Regions from separate parts of the Homo sapiens genome. Here region 1 is linked to region 2. The links are contacts of gene promoters, found by promoter capture Hi-C in human tissues and cell types (Jung and others, 2019). All regions are on one chromosome and are shown on one strand. Each heading gives the region's core, a stretch centred on a gene start or on the middle of the fragment in contact. The rest is flanking DNA. Distances are from core to core; before and after follow the strand shown. Region 1 overlaps LOC101927623 (a long non-coding RNA gene). Region 2 holds the start of GOLM1 (golgi membrane protein 1).

Region 1 (4,392 bases), core at 911-3,410, 52 kb after region 2:
TCGACGTTCCCAATAAGAAGAATATACCTTGGCTGGGTAGACAGAACTTGTTGTGTATGTTAAAAAGTTGTGTGAGTTTGTTGTTTTCATTTTTCCATACTCCTAGAGTACTTGCCAAGGTAGTGCTGGTGAGTGGCTGGAAAGGGGTGTTGGGAGCAAACTGAGTTGCTCCCGGTGTTCTATTTCCCCATTGGAGAAAAAACCATTTTGTATCTGCTAGGAACCATTTGAGAGAGTAATTGAAAGAGAGGATGAGAAGGCATTCACTAGTGGTGGGGGCGCTGCTGCAGGGGGTCCAGGGGTGAATGGTCATGCAGGGAGTATGTTTGCCACTATAAAACCTGGACTGTTTGTTAAGCAGGGGGGAGGTGATGATTTTTGGGAGCCCTGAGAAGCGGACAAGCCATCTGAATGGAGCTGTTTGGGTGACTTGGAAGTTACTATGATCAGTTGGGGCTTGAAGTTGTGGGGTGTAATTACACTGATGGGGTAGTAGGTGCCCCAGGGGCAGGCCTGATAACAGGTTGCATTGGATGCATAAAAGGGCTTGGAAAGTTAAGATAGTATTCATAGTTACAGGGCCGTGTATGGGCTTTTCATTGCTTGTGTAATAAGTGAGGTTGGAAATGTAAGAAAGCAAAAGTTGGATTGCACATCCTGTTAGGGTATTCTTGGTCCTATCAGAGATGGGGAAGTCAGCTAATGATTGCATATTTAGAAGTCAGAAATGGTCTTTTCCTTCATAATGAGGGTGGTAGATTAAGTTGGTAAAGACCCAGTTTTTTGCGGGAATGGGAATGGCAATGTAAGCGGAGGTTGATAGAAAGATACAAAGCCAGCAGTCATTTTCCAGGGAAGGATTGGACTGGTTTAACAGAGAGTGGGTTAAGTTGAGAGTCTTGTAGAGGTAATTAGGAGCTAGTGGAAGGGGAGGGGTGATTGCATGAGGTATCCAAGGAAGCAGAAGGGAAAGATAGGCAAAGCATAAATAGGAAGGTCAAGAGGGTGCTCTGGAAGACGAGATCATTTTATCCAGGCTGAGTTAAAGCTAGGAGTAAATTGCTGTCAGAAGGAAGGAAGATAGAGAGAAGGTTGATGTGATTAAGATTTTCATCCCAGCAGGAGCTACAGTATATAGCCCTATTGCAAAGAGTATGGTTAGTATGCTGCTTAATAATATGATGAAATAATAAAAGGATTCCATTAAAGGGGTAAGGAGAGGTGTTAAAGATAAAGATTATGTAGGTCTTCATTTATCTTTTTAAGGAGGAAGGGGTTTTTCTTCAGGATCAATGGTAGGAGCCTTTTAAGTCTGGGTTATTTCCTTCCAAAATAGGAGATGCAATCCTCCAATGGTTCAAAGGTGTATGGAGGCTTGTCTGGCTGATCTTGGGACTCCTGAGCTGATGGTCCTGCAGGTTCCTCAGGGGATGTCCAGAACTTAACTCGGGTGTGATGAATCCAAGATTCCACTCCTGCCACCTTAACTGCAGTGGGGGTAGAGAGGATTACCGAGTATGATCCTTTCCACAAAGAGTCCGTAGGTGGGGAGGTAGAGGGGAGAGATTTGACTAACACTAGATCTCCTGATTGAAACAACTCTGTTCCCTTTTCTCTGTGACATCCTTCAGGTAGTTTTTTAAGGTTTTGTTGATATTTTGCCAAAGAAGTTATATCTTTGACCAAGTTGGCTGTTTCCTGATCAAGTATGAGGTCATTTGTGAGCAAATGTCATCCATACAGCATTTCATATGGACTGAATCCCATTTTGTGAGGAGAATTTTGGATTCTCAAGAAGGCCATGGGCAAAAGAGTAGGCCATGGGAGATGAGTTTCTTGTGTTCATTTCCTTAAGTGCCTCTTGAGTGTTTCATTTGCCTGCTCGACCTTCCCTGAGGATTGTGGCCTCAGGGTGCAGTGAAGGTGATATTGTATCCCTAACACCCTGGAAATTCCCTGAGTTTTCGTGGCTTTAAAAGCCGGACCATTGTCACTCTGTAAGCTTTGGGGAAGCCCAGATCTAGGAATTATTTCATGAATTAGGACTTTAATCGCTTCCTGAGCCTTCTCTGTCTTGCAGGGGAAAGCTTCTATCCAATTTGTAAAGGTATCAATACAGACCACCAAGTATTGAAATCCCTTTGACTTAGGCAGATGGGTGAAGTCTAACTGCCAGTCCTCTCCAGGATAGTGATCTATTCTTTGTTCCCCCAAAGGAGCCTTATGATGGACCAAGGGATTATTCCTTTGGCACACCTCACAGGCTTTGACTACCTGTCGGATGGTCCAGAGGAGATTTGGCCCTGTAAATAGGGATTTGGCCATTTGAAGAGTGTTTTCAATACCCATATGAAAAGTTTGGTGGAGGGTTTTAAGTATTTTCCACTGGTTGGCTTCAGGCATAAGTACCTTTCCTTCTTCTGTTGTTAACCACCCGGAGGGGAGAAAACTATACCCCCGTGAAAGTCCCCATTCTGTTTCAGTTGGGGAATACTTGGAGGGGGTTGTTCCTATCAAAGGTCCTTCCATAGCTATTTCTAATGGGAGGTTCTGCCTGGCAGCAATTTTGGCCTCAGCATCTGCCCAACAGTTTCCTTCTGCCTTTTCTCCTTCACCTTTCTGATGACTTCGGCAGTGTAAGACTGCCACCTCCTTGGGTTTATGCACTGCATGCAATAACTCCATAATTTCCTTGTGGTATTTAATGGGGGCTCCCCCAGAGGTTAGGAACTCCCTTTCTTTCCATATTGCACCATGGGCATGTAGGATCAGATAAGCATACTTGCTATCTGTATACACATTTATTCTTTTTCCTTTTCCTAGTTCTAAGGCTTGGGTAAGTGCTGCTAGTTCTGCTAAGTGGGCGCTGGTCCCTGGGGGAAGAGGCTTACTTTCAAGTATGGTTACATCACTAACTATGGTGTAACCTGCCCTTCGTATCCCATTCTCCGCATATTAACTTCCATTGGTATATAGGTTAAGGTCAGAATTAGCTAAGGGGACTTCTAAGAGATCATCTTGGGTGGCATAACTCTGGACTATAATTTGTTGGCAGTCATGCTCAACTGGTTCCCCATCTTCTGGGATAAAAGTGGCAGGATTGAGGGCCATGCACATAAGCATTTGAAGCACCAGTCCCTCAAGGAGTAGCGCCTGGTATCTAAGTAGGTGGTTATCTGATAGCCATAAACTTCCTTTGGCACCTAGTATGCCATTTACATCATGAGTAGTCCAGACAGTGAGATCCTTTCCTTGTATTATTTTGATACCCTCTGACACTAAGATGGCCACTGCTGCAACTACCCTTAAACAGTGAGGCCAGACTTTCACTACTACATCAATTTCCTTACTTAGGTATGCCACTGGTTGTGGGGTTGTCCCACGAGTCTGAGTAAGGACTCCAAGAGCTATCCCTGCTCTCTCTGTGATGTATAAACAGAAGTTTTGTCCTGTGGGAAGGCTTAAAGCTGGAGCTTGTACTAGGGCCTGCTTTAAGGTTTTGAAGGCTGTTACTGCCCCTGGCTCCCATTCTACTAGATGAGTATTTGCCCTCTGGGTCTCCTTGATTATAGAGGGGCCTGGCTATCTTGCTGTATCCGGGGATCCCATAGTTGGCAAAAGCCAGTGATTCCAAGGAACCCCCACAAATGTTTTAATGTCTTAGGGTGAGGATAAGCCAGTATAGGCTGTATTCATTCCTTGCTGTGGGCTCTGGTCCCTCTAGCTAAGATTAGGCCTAGATATTTGACCCGTTGTAGGCAAAGCTGAGCCTTCGACCTAGATGCCTTTTACCCTTGATTAGCTAGAAAGTCCAAGAGATCTAGAGTAGCCTGCTGGCATGACACTTCTGAACTGGTAGCCAAAAGCAAATCATCCACATACTGAAGGACCAGAATGCCTGGATTTGAGAAGTGGCCTAGATCTTGGGCCAGTGCCTGACCAAACAGGTGAGGGCTATCCCTAAACCCTTGGGCAAGACCATCCACGTAAGTTGGGATGTGTGGTCTGTGGGATCCTCAAAGGCAAAGAGAAACTGGGAGTCAGAGTGCAGGGGAATATGGAAGAAAGCATCCTTGAGGTCCAGAACAGTGAACCATTCTGCTTCCTCTGGTATTTGAGAGAGCAGTGTATAGGGGATGGGTACAACTGGATATAGAGGAATTACTGCCTCATTGGTGAGTCTAAGATCTTGCACTAGTCTCCACTGGCTGTTCTGTTTTTGTACTCCTAGAATTGGGGTGTTGCAGGGACTGCTGCATTTCCTTACTAAGCCTTGAGCTTTTATATGTTTAATATCCTGTAATCCTTTATGAGCTTCAGGCCTTAAGGGATATTGCCTTTGATAAGGAAAAGTGGTGGGATCTTTTAGCCTGATTTGGACTGGGTGGGCAT
Region 2 (4,295 bases), core at 712-3,211:
GCCTTCAAGCTCCCTCCCACCAATAGTGCCCATCAACTGACACCTGTCTTCTTCTCAGCACACCTGCCTAAAGTGATGCTCCACCCTTCCTACTGATCCACGCAGACGCATTTTCCCCAGGTTCTGCCCTCTGTACTTCCAATGCAGAAAGCCAGCTCGCACTTTCACAGGATAAGGGTAGCAGTTCCCTCCTTCCTGGGGAAGGTGGCCATATATATATAAACCCGGGTAGCCCTGGGCCTGCTATGGTCAGCTGTCCTAACTGTTGTTTCTGCCCAGCCCTCAACAACAACAACAACAGCGGGTGGAATGTAAATGCAAAATCTTTTCATTTCCCATCAATAACTGGACCTAAACCAGCCATTAGAAAGCAGATGGTATCCCTGGCCCTTAATATCCAAGTCACCACAATTTCCTGGCCCCACCCTCAGCACTACTTTCCTCTCATTTCTTTCGTTTTCCTGTAAAACCAACTTTAAAAAAAAATGTGAAAATTGGATAACCTCTCCATAGGAGAACAAAATGTATCTTAAAAGCTAACCTCTTTTCTTTAACCATCCTAACAATTCAATTTTTGTTCACTGACACCTTAAGAATTGAGTGTCTGGCCTAAAAACAGTAAGTCTTAGCAAGTTACTAGTTTCTATTAAGAAAGAAAGTAATGAGCTTAGCTTCATCTTTTATAACACAACTGGAAGAAGCTAGGATGCCTTTGGAGACCCACAAAAACTGACAAGAGATTGTCCCATGCCCTCCAAAATTCAGAAATACTAAAACTGAGATTTGAGCCAACCTGATGGCCATGAGCTAAACAAAGCCACTCAAGCGCTGCTAAATACTTCATCAGGTTATTGTGTATCTCACTAATCCAGCCCTAGAAATGTTCCTCAATAATGTGCATAATGTAGGGCCTAGGGACCCCAAATCAGACAAAGAAAACCTCAAAATCGTGAAAGTCACACAAGTTTAGTTTTGCAAATCTGGCTATGGGACATCTGAAATTGTCCAGCATCATCATGGTATTTCAAATATAATAATTCTTAAATTTTGCTAAAAAATTTCATCAAAATTGTTATTCTTCACATTTTGTTTCTTAAAAGCAAATCATTAAAAATATTAAATGGGATATGATTTTTACAGCAGGGCAAAGTTGTGTGGATCCTCCACGTTGGCAAAGGTGGAAACACAGGTATGCGAGAAAACCCCGAGCATCCACGAGAACGGGATGCAGCCGCGCTCTGGACGCGCGGCGGGAGGACCCGGAGCCCAAGCTCCGGGGTCACCAGCCACGAGGCCCAGCGGCAACGTGGACCCCAGGGCGGCCGGAGCGCGCCTGGGGCTGGAGGGGAGGAAGAGGCGGCGGGAGCCGAGAGACTCGCGGCTCGGCCAGCCTCCCGCGCCTGGTGCAAATCACGCTGCAGAACTGGAACTAGTGCGACTTAGGGGGTGCACGCTTTTGACTTTGGATGCCGACGCGCGTGACAAAGCTCAGAACAAAAAGACAGGCCCCGCATCGCCTGAGACTGCAGGGCAGGGAATCCTCGCGAGGCCCCTCATCGCAGGGCAAGGGGGCCGCGCGCCCGGTCTTGGGGAGCGAGCCGAGGGGCCCAGGCAGCCGCGGGCTACTCGGTGCAGGAAGGTGCGGAGCCAGCCCCGAGCGCAGCCAGCGAAGGTTGCAGCCCCGGCGCAAGCCGCGGGGAGGCTCCGGGGACCGACGCGAGGTCTCGGCGCGCGGGGTACGGGCCCTGGGCAAAGGAGGGAGGAAGCGATGGACCGCGGTTCGGGCAGCCTGGGGCCGCGCGCCGCCCACTCACCTCTTTTCGAGGCTCCGGCCGCCACTCGGGGATCCGGGGCCCCGCTACGAGGCCGCCCGGGTCGCTCTCCCGCCGCCGCCGGCCTCGAGCTCCGGCCGGCTCCGCGCCGTGCGCCCAGCGCCTCCGCGTCCAGCGCCGCCGCGTCTCCGGCCTCCGCAGCGGCAAGGCCCCGCCCCCGAGCAGCGCCGGCGGCGCGAAGGGAGGAGGCGGCGCCGCGAGCGCGGAGAAGCGAGGCAGGGGCTGCCGGGGCCGCGCGGACTCCCGGCCCCACGGTGCGCGCGCCCCGGCCGGTGGCCGCCCCTCGGCGGGAGCAGGAACGCCAGCGTGCGCCCAGTTCTCGCCGCTGGGCGTTGCCCCTTCCCCCGGGCCACCCCATCGCCCCTTCCGACGCGGGAGCTGGCGCCTGAGCAGCGACGCGGAGCGGGGAAGCGGCTGTGGGGAAAGGGTACCTGGGGGGAGCCCCCATCCCACGTTCCGCCCCGAGGGAATGTTCCCGAACAGCCAACCGCACCCAGCGCCACACTCACGTTACCTTCTTTATAAAAGTCGTCGGGTCAAAACTGCCCAGAGAAGGAAGCGAACGAAAAACAGGTTTTTAGGGGGCTTATACTCACAAAATTGTCTTTTTTCTCCCACGAGGCATTCCCTGTTGACCATCATCTCGCCTCGGTTGTCACCGCTCAGGCCTTAGTGTTTGGTCTGTGACCCTTCCACTGCTAGCAACGGAAAAAGTGAAGATTCCCGGACGCCTTCGGGTGTGATCTTATAGCCCGGGCAGCTGCATTTGAAACAGCGCCTCAGATGACGCTCAGGCGCACTGATGTTTGAGAAGCCCTATGAGGCCGTACCTCCCGGAGAGAATGCCACAAAACTAGTGACCTACAGGGAAACCATGCTAGAAAATTCTAAAGCAATGGTTCTTAACTCTGGCAGCACCTGCCATCCATTAGAATTATTTGGGGAGCTTTTAGAGCATTTAGGAACCAGGGTCCCACTTCCAGAGTTCAAAGTGAACTTGATATTTTTTGTTTGTTTTGAGCTTCCCAGATAATCCTAATACAGTATACGGCCAAGATTGAGAACAGTTTTCCTAGAATCATGTCTTCATGTCTTCCTAGCTCTGGTGTCTGGGAAAGGAAACTCCTTCCTCTGCGCCTCTCTCAAATCACAATAAAAAAACAAGTAAATACATGAACACCTAAAGGAATGCTCACAGCTGAAATTGATTTTAACCAGAACAAAGAGTCACCTTAAAAAAGGTGATCAAGATACCCTATTGCTACCTGAGCATGGAGCTTCTTAACTGCAGGAAACGTATCTTTACCAGCTAAAACCTCTTAGCTGAATTAGAAGCTGACCATACATGACCCCTTTAGAGGAATGTTCTACTATATTCCAAAATGATATTTTTGTTATCTGCAACTGTTAAACTGTTGTAGGGTCAGACCAAAGCATTCAGAAGCTGAGGCTGTATCAGATGTCAGCCCTGGTTTTGCAGACTTAAGTTGTGTCACTTTGATCTTCTAGTGAGCTTAAATAACCATAATCGGGGACAGGTACAGGAAATTCCCTTTCTTGCCCATTTTAGCTCTCTTAGTATAGTTTACATTCTTAGACTGGTGGACTGTAACTTCTATATCATTTGGCTCTAAGGAGGGTCTCCATTAGTCTCTCATTTATCAGCAACTAATTAGCGACTCACTCAGTGATTCTTAAACACTTTATGGAACAGGTCCATATGTCTAGGTGCTAAGGCAGCTGGCTGAATGAGCTATATTTTAATTGAAGATGAATTAGTCCTTTTCGTTAGATTCTTTATGACAAAAGTTGAAAATTTTAAGATGCAGTTTTATATATATCTATATACATAATTTACATTCCTTATAAAAAAGCTAATCAGTTGCTGGCCCTGAAAATTCAATTGGATGGGTTTTGATTAAACAATGTGCAAGGGGCTACAGTGGTTGGTTGAAGGAAGCATCCATGTTTTGCCTGTTAAGCATCCTTTCCTTAATGTCTTAGTCCATTTTGTGTTGCTATAACACAATTCCACAGACTCAGTAATTTATAAAGAAAAGAAATGTATTTCTCATAGTTCTGAAGGCTAGGAAGTCTAATATCAAGGTGCTGGCATCTTGCAAGGGCCTTCTTGCTGCATCAGCCTGTGGTGGAAGGCAGAAGGGCAAGAGGGTGTATGTGAAATTGAACTTGCAGCCTCAAACCCTCTATAATTGGCATTAATTTATTTATAAGAGTGGAGCCTTTATGACCTAAACACCTCCCTTTGGGCCCCACCTCCCAACACTGTTGCACTGGAGATTCAGTTTTCAACACGTGCTTTATGGAGCACACATTCAAACCATAGCATTCTGCTTCTATGCCCCCCACCACCCCCAGTTCATATCCTTCTCACATACAAAATACATTTATTCCATCCCAACAGCCCTAAAGGCTTTAATATTTATTTATTTATTTATTTAT

The links. Contacts are between HindIII fragments. The study calls those that stand out against the background at their distance.
Region 1: a contact is called between a fragment that was not itself captured here and the fragment with the promoter of GOLM1 in region 2, in 1 of the 25 tissues and cell types used here (H1 embryonic stem cells).

What each region holds. Positions count from the first base shown.
Region 1 is chr9:86,149,295-86,153,686 of GRCh38, forward strand. All of the region lies in intron 4 of LOC101927623 (a long non-coding RNA gene), which reads left to right. Among named protein-coding and RNA genes, the nearest start is that of GOLM1, 52 kb to the left of the region's middle. The HindIII fragment of the contact is 3,790 bases long and covers 266-4,055 here.
Region 2 is chr9:86,097,597-86,101,891 of GRCh38, forward strand. It overlaps GOLM1 (golgi membrane protein 1), which reads right to left and starts at 1,962. Exons shown (of 10, transcript NM_016548.4): 1 at 1,815-1,962. RefSeq lists an enhancer at 1,403-1,903 and silencers at 1,534-1,583, 1,744-1,843, 1,854-2,173. The HindIII fragment of the contact is 18,007 bases long and covers 1-4,295 here.